Linked DNA regions of Homo sapiens: region 1 is linked to region 2. Evidence: promoter capture Hi-C in human tissues and cell types (Jung and others, 2019). All regions are on one chromosome and are shown on one strand. Each heading gives the region's core, a stretch centred on a gene start or on the middle of the fragment in contact. The rest is flanking DNA. Distances are from core to core; before and after follow the strand shown. Region 1 has its middle 54 kb from the start of LINC01915. Region 2 holds the start of PSMA8 (proteasome 20S subunit alpha 8).

The links. The method cuts DNA at HindIII sites, captures the fragments that hold promoters and counts their contacts. A contact is called where the count stands out against the background at its distance.
Region 1: a fragment that was not itself captured here is called in contact with the fragment with the promoter of PSMA8 in region 2 in 1 of the 25 tissues and cell types used here (dorsolateral prefrontal cortex).

Annotation. Positions count from the first base shown.
Region 1 is chr18:24,680,394-24,683,093 of GRCh38, reverse strand. No RefSeq gene overlaps it. Among named protein-coding and RNA genes, the nearest start is that of LINC01915, 54 kb to the right of the region's middle. The HindIII fragment of the contact is 5,054 bases long and covers 1-2,700 here.
Region 2 is chr18:26,132,607-26,135,306 of GRCh38, reverse strand. PSMA8 (proteasome 20S subunit alpha 8) reads right to left here and starts at 1,438. Exons shown (of 7, transcript NM_001025096.2): 1 at 1,240-1,438. The coding sequence starts at 1,341. The HindIII fragment of the contact is 10,391 bases long and covers 1-2,700 here.

The DNA.
Region 1 (2,700 bases), core at 20-2,519, 1.5 Mb after region 2:
AGAAAATGTCACTATTTAAGGTGATGGCTATCCCAATTACCCTGATCTGATTAAATGAATGTATCAAATAATCAAAGGTACAGAAAATATGTACATCTAATATATATCAATATAAATAAATAAAAATATCCCATGGCATAAAAACAAGAAAACTTCACAAATCATTTTACAAAGCCAGCATAATCCTTATATGGAAACTCAAGATAAATATCACAAAAGGGAGGCAGGAGAATCACTTGAACCCGGGAGACGGAGGTTGCAGTGAGCTGAGACTGCACCACTGCACTCCAGCCTGGGTGACAAAGCAAGACTCCACCTCAACAAAATCACAAAAGGGAACATTACAGCCGTACCTGTTCAATAAGCAACCATCTAGAACCTTCCCTTGGTGCTCCCTGCCTTTGTCCCTCACTGCACTGCTCACTCCACACTAGCAAGGTGAGCACCACTCATTGTTTGCACGGTGCTTGACACATAGTAGGCCCTCTACAGACCTATCAAACTCTGTAACCATGTGAATGAGTGGTTTACTCCTGGGGTTAAGAGTTCAGCAGGTCAGTGGCTGAGCCCAGATTGATAACCTCATTTTCTAGTCCTCAGCACCTTTCACAACAAAACAGCCAAAGACAGCAGCCTGCTTGACAATATTCATTCTGCAAAGTTTTTCATAAATGCGGCTTACTAAGATCTCAGAGAATTCTTTTGAGATAAACTCAGGCTACAGGGGACATTTGGTAAGAAGCAATGCTTACTGTGTTATTGAGAGGATATGTAATCATCTCTGGCACACAACACAGGTTGAGAGAAACTGCAGTTTTCCCTCACCACAAAAACCTTTCTGAGTGCTCTGGGAACTGACCCTACTGTGTTCTCTGAGGCCAGGAAAAAACATCTCTCCAAAGTCACATTTCCTTGCACCCTGCAGATGTTACACTTCCTAAGAGTTGGACAGTCAAACAAAAGGATCTAAATATATTTCCCCTATTTTTTTTATTGGTACATGATAGATGCATACATTTTGGGGGTACATGTGATAACTTAATACATTCATACAATTTGTTAAGATAAAATCAGTGTAATTGATATATCTACCACCTTAAATATTTGTCTTTTCTTTATGCTAGAAACATTTGAATTATTCTCTTCTATCTATTTTAAAATATACAATGGAGTATTGCAAACTATGGCCACCCTACTGACCTATTTAACACTAGATCTTAATTCTCTCTATTCTTAACTGGTAAAGTGATAAGCTACTCCTTGGGTCATCAAGCCACCTTCCTCTAGGGTCATGCTTTGAGTTACTCATCCATTTGTGCCTTTCCTACAATATCAACTTTATATTAACAAAGAGTCCCAGTACATGTGATAAGACGGGAAAGACGGTCCACAACCCATGACATAGGAACACAGATGTGATCTCCTCTCACCTCAACCTTCCAAAGCTCACCAATTTCAACAAGACAAACTTCTAACTCATTGGCTAAGGAGTGAGTATCCAAAAAAACTGGCATAATCAGACCACAGGCTACCTTTCCAATCCCATCTTCCCTCATTCTCGCTATGCCCCGGCCTCATACCTTGTAGTTTCCCAAGCTCAGGGACTTTCATTCTCAGTACTCCCTCTAGTAGGATGACTCTGAAAAACTTCCCTTCCTGCCGAGCTCCTACTCACCCTCCCAGGCCAAGGCCTGATATCATTCTCACTAGGAAATCTTCTACCAAGCCGGAAATAATCACTCATGTGTCTCAGGAAACCATCATGGCATAGGGTTGAATTATAATTACCTGAACACGACTTTTCTCCGCGTAATAAATTATAAGCTTTTTGAGGGCAGGGACCATGACATATTTGTTCTTGCATCCACAGTGCCTAGCACGGCAATGCAGGAGTTCCTTATATTTTCGTCAAATGACCTTGTTGAGTGCCTACTAGTTGCCTGACACAAAACGGTTGTAATCTGATGTAAAACTTAGAGTAATCAGAAGAACTAACAAGACCACCTTATAACAATGGGAAAATGGCACTCATGAGGAGAAAAATTGAGGGCAATGCCTTCTGAGACCGGCAAGAAGAGACGATTCCCAGATCAAGTGCGAAGCCTGAGAAATGTAGTCCTGGATCTCGTTGAGAACATTTCTTTCTGCCCTGATTCTCTGATTCATTAGTCGATTTGGTTTCCAAAGTAAACTTTCCTTCAGGGGAAATGGTGGGTGGTACGAGCCAATTCTTTTGATTACCTAGTGCTGTGTAACAAACTACCCCAAAACACAGAAGCTTAGAAAATAACTATTTTACTTGCCCACAATTCTGTGGGACAGAAATTCAGACAAGGATAGGCTGAATAGTCCTGCTCCCTGCAGCATTGGCTGGTGGCCCAACTGGGCTAGAAGTTCCAACAAGGCTTCATGTACCTGCCTGACACCTCAGTGTTCCCTGGTGGCCAGTTTCTCTCTCACTCTCTCCACACAGCTAGCTTGGGCTTCCTCACAGCATACTAATCTCAGGCTAATCACACATCTTGCATGGATGCTGGCTTCCAAGAGGGCATGTCCCAAGCAGTAAAAATGGAAGCTGCAGCTCTCTTGAGGCCCCAGCCTCAGAAGACTGGCAGAGACTTCTACCACATTCTACAGGTCAAAACAGGTGCCAGAGCCATTCTGGACTCAAGAGGAAGAGAATTAGCCTTCATCTTTCAA
Region 2 (2,700 bases), core at 189-2,688:
TCATGAAATTGAGAGAATAAAAATATCCGATCCTTTGAATTCATAGGCTAGGCCTTAGAAGATTTGGGGTAATAGATCTTGTGTCACTAGGGCACTTTTGTCCTCTTTAATTTTTATAAATCACTAAAATTATTGAACGTAGTTAAAACTTGGCAGCAGTATTACTCCTACCCTGAGTATTTTTTAAGTTTTTCAGTAATGTGGATACATAAATCTAAGGTAGGGTGTAATCTCTCAAGGAACTTCCAGCATTATTTTTTAAGTGGCCAAAAAAGTGGAAGTTCTTGGACTTTTGAGCCTCTACAAGGCTGGGAAATATTGGGACAATTTTGGGATTTTTTTTTTTTTTCCCGAGACGGAGTTTCGCTTTTGTTGCCCAGGCTGGAGTGCAATGGCACGATCTCGGCTCACCGCAACCTCTGCCTCCCAGGTTCAAGCGATTCTCCCGCCTCAGCCTCCCGAGTAGCTGGGATTACAGGCATGCGCCACCACGCCTGGCTAATTTTGTATTTTTAGTAGAGACGGAGTTTCTCCATGTTGGTCAGGCTGGTCTCAAACTCCCGACCTCAGGTGATCCGCCCTCCTGGGCCTTCCAAAGTGCTGGGATTACAGGTGTGAGCCACTGCGCCCAGCAATTTTGGGATATTTTTAACGCGTGTGTTTGAACTGTGTTTTTAATCATTTCTTCATCAACAAAAGTTTAATTTTATATTGATTTAGTCCGTATTTGGGGAGCAGGTGTGGCCAACTTTTATTTTTTATTGTAACTGTTATTAAAAAACAGTTCCCAACATGAAGCAACTGTTAACTTTTCCAGGGGTCTCTGAACTACCAAGGAACTGGACCACGAGCGTTCAATAGGTAGGCTGTTACAGATTAGAAGCTTTCCCTATTGTCAATCACATCATTAACGTCCCTACACACACACACACACACACAGAGACACACACACACACACACACACACCCACACACACACCCTAGTTTTGCGTCTGTAGCTACCATGAAACAGAGGCAGTTGAACAGCAGAGATAGGGGAAATCTACTAACTTTTACTCTGCCCACTTCCGGCCCAAATCTAGAAGTCTGTCTCCCTAAATAAAAAGAACAAAGTAATTTTCACAAGTGTGGGAATCTCCTCTCTTGAGCTCCTAGGATGGAAAGGTGGGCTGGGGCAGCAGGGTAACGATGGCCTGACAGGTCAGAGCGGGGAATAGTCCGGTAATAGTTGCTTCCTCACCGCGGTGGATCCTTTCTTCACCGCTTCCTGGGCATATTCAACTTGAAAAAGGTGTCCGTCTGGGGAGAAGACAGTGATCGCCCTGTCATATCGAGACGCCATCGCACAGGACTACAAGGGCTTGCCACCGAGCTTCCCGCTGCTGCAGCTGAGGCAAGCGGGGAGCCGCCGCCAACACAGCGTGCTACCGCCCGGAAGCGCTTCCACACGCGCCTCAAGCTGCCTCCCGGAAGTCCCCGCGCCCGCGCTTCGGCTGCTTCACGGAAGTCCTTGCTCCTTTGGCTGCCTGCGGATGTCCTCGCGCTTGCCAGCCTTTGTCACCCAAGCAGTGCCTGTGAGTTGACGGCATTCTTCCCTTACCCTTCATGTCTGACGCATAGCGCATATCTCCATTTCCCCACTACCGTGTTGCCCCAGGGATGGTGTCACGGCACTCGAGTTATAAAAATAATATCAAAGATTAGGGCTTAAAAATGAGGTCTTCAAATATCAGATATTTTTGTTATCGCATACATGTTGGAGAAACTGTGGTAAGTTAAATATCAGTCCCTTCCCTTTGGTTTCAAATTCTAAATTTCCTACTTTTTCTTTCTCTCTCTCAGGTTAACTCTTGTTATTTGAACCGAAGGAAAGAAAGCAAACTTCAAAATATTGTTGCTTCTGATATTTTCTGCCTTGTGAGCAAAATAGAGCAGATGAGCAAATGGTCCGTTAAATAAAGCAAATAGTCCATCAAACTAAGCTAATGATGAGAATTAAGATAATGTTCTTTTTTTTGTTTTGTTTTGTTTTTTGTTTTTTGAGACGGAGTCTCGCTCTGTCGCCCAGGCTGGAGTGCAGTGGTGCAATCTCGGCTCACTGCAAGCTCCACCTCCCGGGTTCACGCCATTCTCCTGCCTCAGCCTCCGGAGCAGCTGGGACTACAGGCGCCCGCCACCACGCCCGGCTAATTTTTTATATTTTTAGTAGAGACTGGGTTTCACCGTGTTAGCCAGGATGGTCTTGATCTCCTGACCTCGTGATCCGCCTGCCTCGGCCTCCCAAAGTGCTGGGATTACAGGCGTGAGCCACCGCGCCCGGCCCAGATAATATTCTTTTAATTGGAGAAATTTTGTAAAAGCCCAAAGTATGAGACTTAAAAGATGTCTGGAAATTTAGCTATAGCAGAAACTCTTTACAACTTGCTACATTACTAACTATGAAACAACTCTGTCGCTTTCTCCTTATCAATAAAATGGGAATATTAAAAAATCTGCAGCAGAGTATTCTGAGCTTAATATGTGTTTATGGGCATAATTACATAAAATGGTGCCTGGTGGGCAGTAATAGCCAGGTAAGTTTAGCTATTATTGCTTTCCATGTGTTGTTTAATATATGCAGTTTTCCACTGGGGAGGATCTTAAAGTTGGTGAAATCAACTTTAACCAAAAAAAAGAAAAAAAGAATAATTTCCTCAAAAGA